Regions from separate parts of the Homo sapiens genome. Here region 1 is linked to region 2. Evidence: promoter capture Hi-C in 16 types of primary human blood cells and fetal thymus (Javierre and others, 2016). All regions are on one chromosome and are shown on one strand. Each heading gives the region's core, a stretch centred on a gene start or on the middle of the fragment in contact. The rest is flanking DNA. Distances are from core to core; before and after follow the strand shown. Region 1 overlaps IPO11 (importin 11). Region 2 holds the start of LRRC70 (leucine rich repeat containing 70).

Evidence for each region. Contacts are between HindIII fragments. The CHiCAGO score rates a contact against its expected background, and 5 or more counts as called.
Region 1: a fragment that was not itself captured here is called in contact with the fragment with the promoter of LRRC70 in region 2 in 2 of 17 cell types (endothelial precursors and erythroblasts); the score reaches 7.7 in endothelial precursors.

The regions. Positions count from the first base shown.
Region 1 is chr5:62,466,454-62,469,482 of GRCh38, reverse strand. IPO11 (importin 11) reads right to left here. Exons shown (of 30, transcript NM_016338.5): 6 at 2,220-2,352. Among named protein-coding and RNA genes, the nearest start is that of IPO11, 55 kb to the right of the region's middle. The HindIII fragment of the contact is 1,473 bases long and covers 738-2,210 here.
Region 2 is chr5:62,577,225-62,580,105 of GRCh38, reverse strand. It overlaps LRRC70 (leucine rich repeat containing 70), which reads right to left and starts at 1,287. Exons shown (of 2, transcript NM_181506.5): 1 at 1,171-1,287; 2 at 1-705. The coding sequence starts at 667. All of the region lies in intron 27 of IPO11 (importin 11), which reads right to left. IPO11-LRRC70 (IPO11-LRRC70 readthrough) reads right to left here and starts at 1,371. Exons shown (of 4, transcript NR_073584.1): 1 at 1,171-1,371. The HindIII fragment of the contact is 1,459 bases long and covers 729-2,187 here.

The DNA of each region.
Region 1 (3,029 bases), core at 225-2,724, 110 kb after region 2:
GTACTAAAGAATTATACCTTAAATAGTGTTTATGAGGTCTAAAGGCAATGGATTAAATTTAGGTTTAGAATGTAGCTGTCTACTAGACCTTCGGTTTGTAAGTCTAAAGCAATGTATTAAAATTAAGTTTAGAATGTAGCTGTCTATAAGACCTTCAGTTTGAAATCATCATATGCAACTCAGAAGTTGCTGCATCATAACGATGCAGTAAGTTTTCCTCGTTTTCGTAAGGAGAAAACAGAATTCAAATTGAATCCCTTATTCTGGATATGCTTTCTCACCACAAGACCTTGAGCCACAATACCTGAGAGGATCCTTTCCTTCTCCCTTCATCACCTAGTTAACTTCCACTTATCCTTTAAGATTACAGCTCAAAGATCACTTTCTCAGGGAAATTTTTCTGATCATATTATCAGTTATCATAATATCATAAAGCCTCTGTCACAGGTGTCACTTTAAATATATTTGTGGGATCATTTTATTAAGTCTGTCTCCCCAGTGCCAAGGATCTATAGATTTGTCGAATGAAATAATGAATGCATCCATGTCTAAAAGATACTAAATGCACGTAAGTGTAAATTCAGATAGAGATTACACAAAACAAAAATTGTAGTTTGGAGTATTTCTTCATTTCAGAACAGAAATGTATAGTTACAGAACAAAATTTTCCAGGGCAGGATATCTCTAAAAAGTTAATGTGAATCTAAGACCTTCAGATGGTGAGGTATTAAAAAGCTTAAGGCAGGCAAAGATATAGTAAAGCTACATCTTTTTCGTCAGGAGTTAGGCTTTGAAATCAATAAGGTAAGAAAACCCTATAATCAAAAGAAATCTTGAAAATTTCTTAATCATTAAATATACTACTATACACACAGCTTTGTATACACAGCCTTATATCAGTTTCTGTAATTCTTTCTGAGCAAACATTTCTCTCCAATGTCTGTAATTTCTTCCTCAAGAATGTTAACAAAACCATCTCCACTCACTTTTATAACTACTTCTACAATGGATTTTATTTTTCAACAGTCCTTTAAAATCATTCAAACATTTCTTCACAGGTTTCACAAAATGTGCTGACAGTTTGGGATTTGTGCATCCATTGTCTGGTGAAAGTAAGTGATGTATTAAGGCGATGCCAAGACTGATGGGATTCCAAGGTACCAGAATGAGTACGATAAAAGAACTTATAGGTAAAACTAAAAAGAATGCAAACTGAGAGTAAGAGAGAAACTGATGCTGCCTGAGATCAAACTAAGAAAAACAAACTAGGCCAGGCACAGTGCTCATCCCTGTAATCCTATCACTTTGGGAGGTCAAGGCAGGAGGATCACTTAAAGCTAGGAGTTCAAGACCAGAAAGATGTAAAAATCAGCCTGGTGCAGTGGCATGTGCCTGTAGTCCCAGTTACTCAGGAAGCTGCAGTGAGAGGATCACTTGAGCCCAGGAGTTCAAGGTTGTAGTGAGCTATGATTATGCCACTGCACTTCAACCTGGGAGACAGAGCAAGACCCTGTCTGTCCAAAAAAACAAAAAACAAACAAACAAAAAGAACTAAAAAAGTCTTAGCAACCAGAACAGAAAGAAGAGAGGGACTAGAAAAGTAAGAGAATAAGACAAATGAGTATATTTTAGAAGAAAAGGAACCTAGGAATACATTCATCAAGATAAACAGCTCAAGGAAAGTGAGATGGAGATTTATGCTAAGGGAATGCCTGCAAGCAACATATACCAAGACACAGGCCAAGATGGCATCCTATAAAGCACCTTCTGAAATCCAAGTGAGCCTGAGGCACTAAGATGAAAGATGGAGGCTTGCCTTTCCAGGGAAAGGAGGGATGAAAGACAGTGCTCATTCCAGCCTGGAGAAAAAATTTTAGGAAAGTTGGCATGACAAGGATAAGTGTAGGGGTCCAGAATGAGAAAAATAAAGTAGAAACAAAAACTAGAAGCATTTGAAAAAAATATATTCAGAGCCATGAGGCCGCAATAATGTGAATCTAACTATCCACTTCAACTTATTATATGTGCTTTCAAAAATCAGAAGGGGTAGAGGAAGAGCTACTGCCACAAAACTATAAATAAGCCCTTATCTTTCAGGGAGAAATAAACCTCTTATTTTTCCAGTGAAACTGGGAACAGAAAACCCGTCTAAAGGAACTATTTGGTGACTGTTCTGAGGTATCTCATTTCAAAAATGAACATATCAAGCTTAATAGTACCTTTCAATGATAGCAGTGTTCGTTCTAGTGAACTCAAAATTGCAGCTTCATTGCCAGAAGAAACTTCTTGCAGGAATGTGTCTGTGTGGTGATTCCACAGAGAGCAGGCAAAATTATAAATTCCAGAAGCTAACTGCAAAGAAAAGGCAACAAATTTATTCATAGTGTATTATACATTTCAGTAATACATTAGAACTACAAAGTAATATATTTTAGTTTTACAACTAAGCACACATTTTCTGAGAGATCTGAAATAGTCAAAGAATATTTGTGGCAATGTTTCATACTTTTTTAGCCACAATGCACAGTAACACATACAGCTTACACTGGCTGCTAAACACACACAGACACACCCCTAAAATACTAGTTTCTTAAAACAATATTAATACCTCATCAAATGCCTGCATTGCAGTCTTATATATTCTATTTTTATTCTTTTTATCTCCACTAATAGGTTGCAATCTCAGTTTAAAACAATGATTTATGGACTGTCACTGAGTATGTCAGATAAATCAATATATGAAGATATACAAAGGAGAAAGCCTTCCGTGTTCTGCCAGTTCTACGCATATGGCTTTTGCACATTTAATGCCAGGAACATACAAACCACATGGTTTCTCAGTTGCTTTACTAAAGTGTGCTGATATTTAAAAACCTGACCCTCACATTAAGAATGTAGTTAATCTCTGCCTCACACTTTGAGGCAGAACATCTTCCAGTGACATCTTCAATTTTTTCCAGGAGTTCTCGGAGCAATCCAGCTGAGTCTACATGGCTATTTACTTTAAATTAAAATTAGATAAAAGTATT
Region 2 (2,881 bases), core at 38-2,537:
CATTTGATGGTACTTTTGTTAAATTATTACTTCCTAAATACAAACAAGCAAGGTTTTCAAGATGTTGAAAGCCTGATTCTGATATCCTCAAAATGTTATTGTTTGATAAATCAAGTATCCGAAGAGCAACCATACCAACAAAGGTACCACTCCCAAGGACAGTGAGGCGATTCCTTTGTAGATTTAAGTACTGAACTGAAACTAGATCATTAAATACTCCTCTCGGAACAAAAGATACCTGATTATACTGTAAATATAAATTACGAAGATTTAAAAGTCCCTTAAATATTCCAGGATCTAAGCGTTTGATGAAATTATTATTTAGAAATAGAAAATATAGATGCCTCAATTGAACAAAGGCTTTTGGATATACATACAGAATGTTAGAATTATCCAAATACAATGCTACAAGAGAATGAAGTCCTGTTAATTCACTTTCATTTATATAAGATATATTATTCCCAGTCAGATACAGAAAAACTGTACTTTCAGGAAAATTCTTAGGAATACTCGAAAGGCCTAAGTTACGGCAGTTAATTTGTCTCCCAGTGCAGAGCTGACAAACAGACGAACATCCAAGTATTTCTTTGTGGAGTAATAATAAAAGATAACAGGTAACAACCAGAAACAGTCGTAGGCAAGGCAGAGAAAACTGTAATCCACACATATCCCTGTTCTTGGATTTTCTGTTCAGATCAGAATTGGCTATAAAAAGAGAAGGTAAAGCTTTAAATCACGAAAACTTCATCAAATGAATTTTTTTTATAATACTATAACTTCTGTATTCTATTTTAATTAGGATCAGCCAATAATACTATCATAAATCATACCATGGTAATAGCAAAAAATAATGAGTATGGAATACGTTCTAGAATTATTAACATGATCAGGCCATTAACCCACTATTTGACAAAATAGTTCAGATTAATGAAACATTTGCTAAGTTAACTTAAAAATTACAATTGATTACAACACAGGTGACAAATGATGTAGGAATGAGAATCTTTGAATTTAATATGTCCCTTTAACAACATAAAGTCTAATATCAAATAACATTATAATTTATGAAAATACAAATTCACTACAGAACAATTAAATTCTAAATTACAGTTTTTCACAGAACTATTTTTCATGTCAGCTAGAAGTTCATATTTAAGTAAATAATCTTACCAAGAAAAGGAAATTCGTATTATTAACACTCAGCTGATTCAGTAAAGGTTTTCTTTTTAAATCTGAAGAACGACATTTCTTAACTCCAGTTTGTTCTGTGGCACTGCTGACCTCCACCCCACCACTTTTTTTTTTTTTTTTTTAAGTCACCGTTTGCTCAGGAAACACCACTCTTCACATTGGTTCCTTTACAGTCAATGTGTAAAACAGAGGTTGCCATGGATACAGGAAGCTAAGAGACAGGAAGTAATTTTATCTGTGTTTCAAAAGTATTGCTGAACGGAAATCTCAGGAACTTATTTTTTCAGAATGCAGTTAGAGTTTTCCTAATATACACATTGAAATATCTCCTATAATATAAAAATAATAGTTTTTAAAGGATACTTGAAAACATTAGTTATTCAGAACCCAAATATCAATCAACAGACTCTAGCTATCAAACAACATAGCTACTGAATGGAAAAGGCTAGTTCAAATAAGATGTATATCGAGTAATACAATTTTTTGTAAACTTTTTAATGAATAAAATATTTATGTTGTGTTAAATACGCATTGAAGACTTAAACTTTATGCTTTATTCCTTTAATAAAAATAGGGGAAAAAATTTAGAATGAACATAAATGTTGTTATATTATCCTCCAGTGCTCTTTTTAAAATTTTCAAAATATTTTTGGTTGCAAAAAATACTGAGTACTACTTAATACGTGAGGTACTAATTGGTAGTAAGCTACTAATTAGTAGTAACGCACTAATTGGTTGTGTTGGGTTATAAGATGTTAAGAAGCTGCATACCAACTTACTGACATAGGTTATCTTTGCAAGAAAAATTGGGGAGAGTAAAAGAGGCGATGTTTCGCCCTATATATATCTGTATCAGTTTGAATCTTTTAGAACAAAAATGGAGAATTTTTTAACGTCATTTTTCAAGAATTTAAAGAATCGGATATAAATTGTTTATATTATATATTGTTCAGTCATTAACTTTCTTTCATTAACTTTAAGCTAGTTGCTTAAGCTTTCTAATTCTGACTTTTATTAATATTACTAATAGCCTGATAATATTCCTAAAATATCAAGTTATATAATTGTATACAACTCTCCTTTGATATTAAAGCAGTTTCATTTCACATCAACAATTACTTTAGAAATAATATGAATTATGTCCATATTAGAAAGCTGAAATAATACCTAGCATTATCTTTCTATGACTAAAAATTCAGCAATGCATACTGGATAGCAGATCGTTATCAAAATGACTTATGATTCTTACACCTATCCATTATGGCTGGTTACTGTTATTGCTATTTTATGCATTAAAAATGGAAAACAAAACAAGTGACAGAAATGATATGAATTTGAGGTAGGGGCTATGTTTCTCAGGTCCATTTTGTTTAGTACTTCCAATAATATACAAGGTGATATGAAGCTTGTCCCATGGATTTTTCAATTTCTTGGGAAAAATTCAGAGAAAGGGTCCTTTGAAATAAAAATAAAATTAAAGAGAAAAAACCCACAAAGTAATATAACCAGAGTATGAATTAATTTTGTTCTTTATGCCAAAAATATCCAAAGCAGTAAAGAACACTTATTAGGATGCAAAGGTAAAATTTTTAGGAAACTGTATTAAGGAAAAATGACAAAATAAAATCTCACTTCTCACATTCTAAAAACTGAAGGAAACTAAACTGACTTCAACAAAACAAGCAAATAT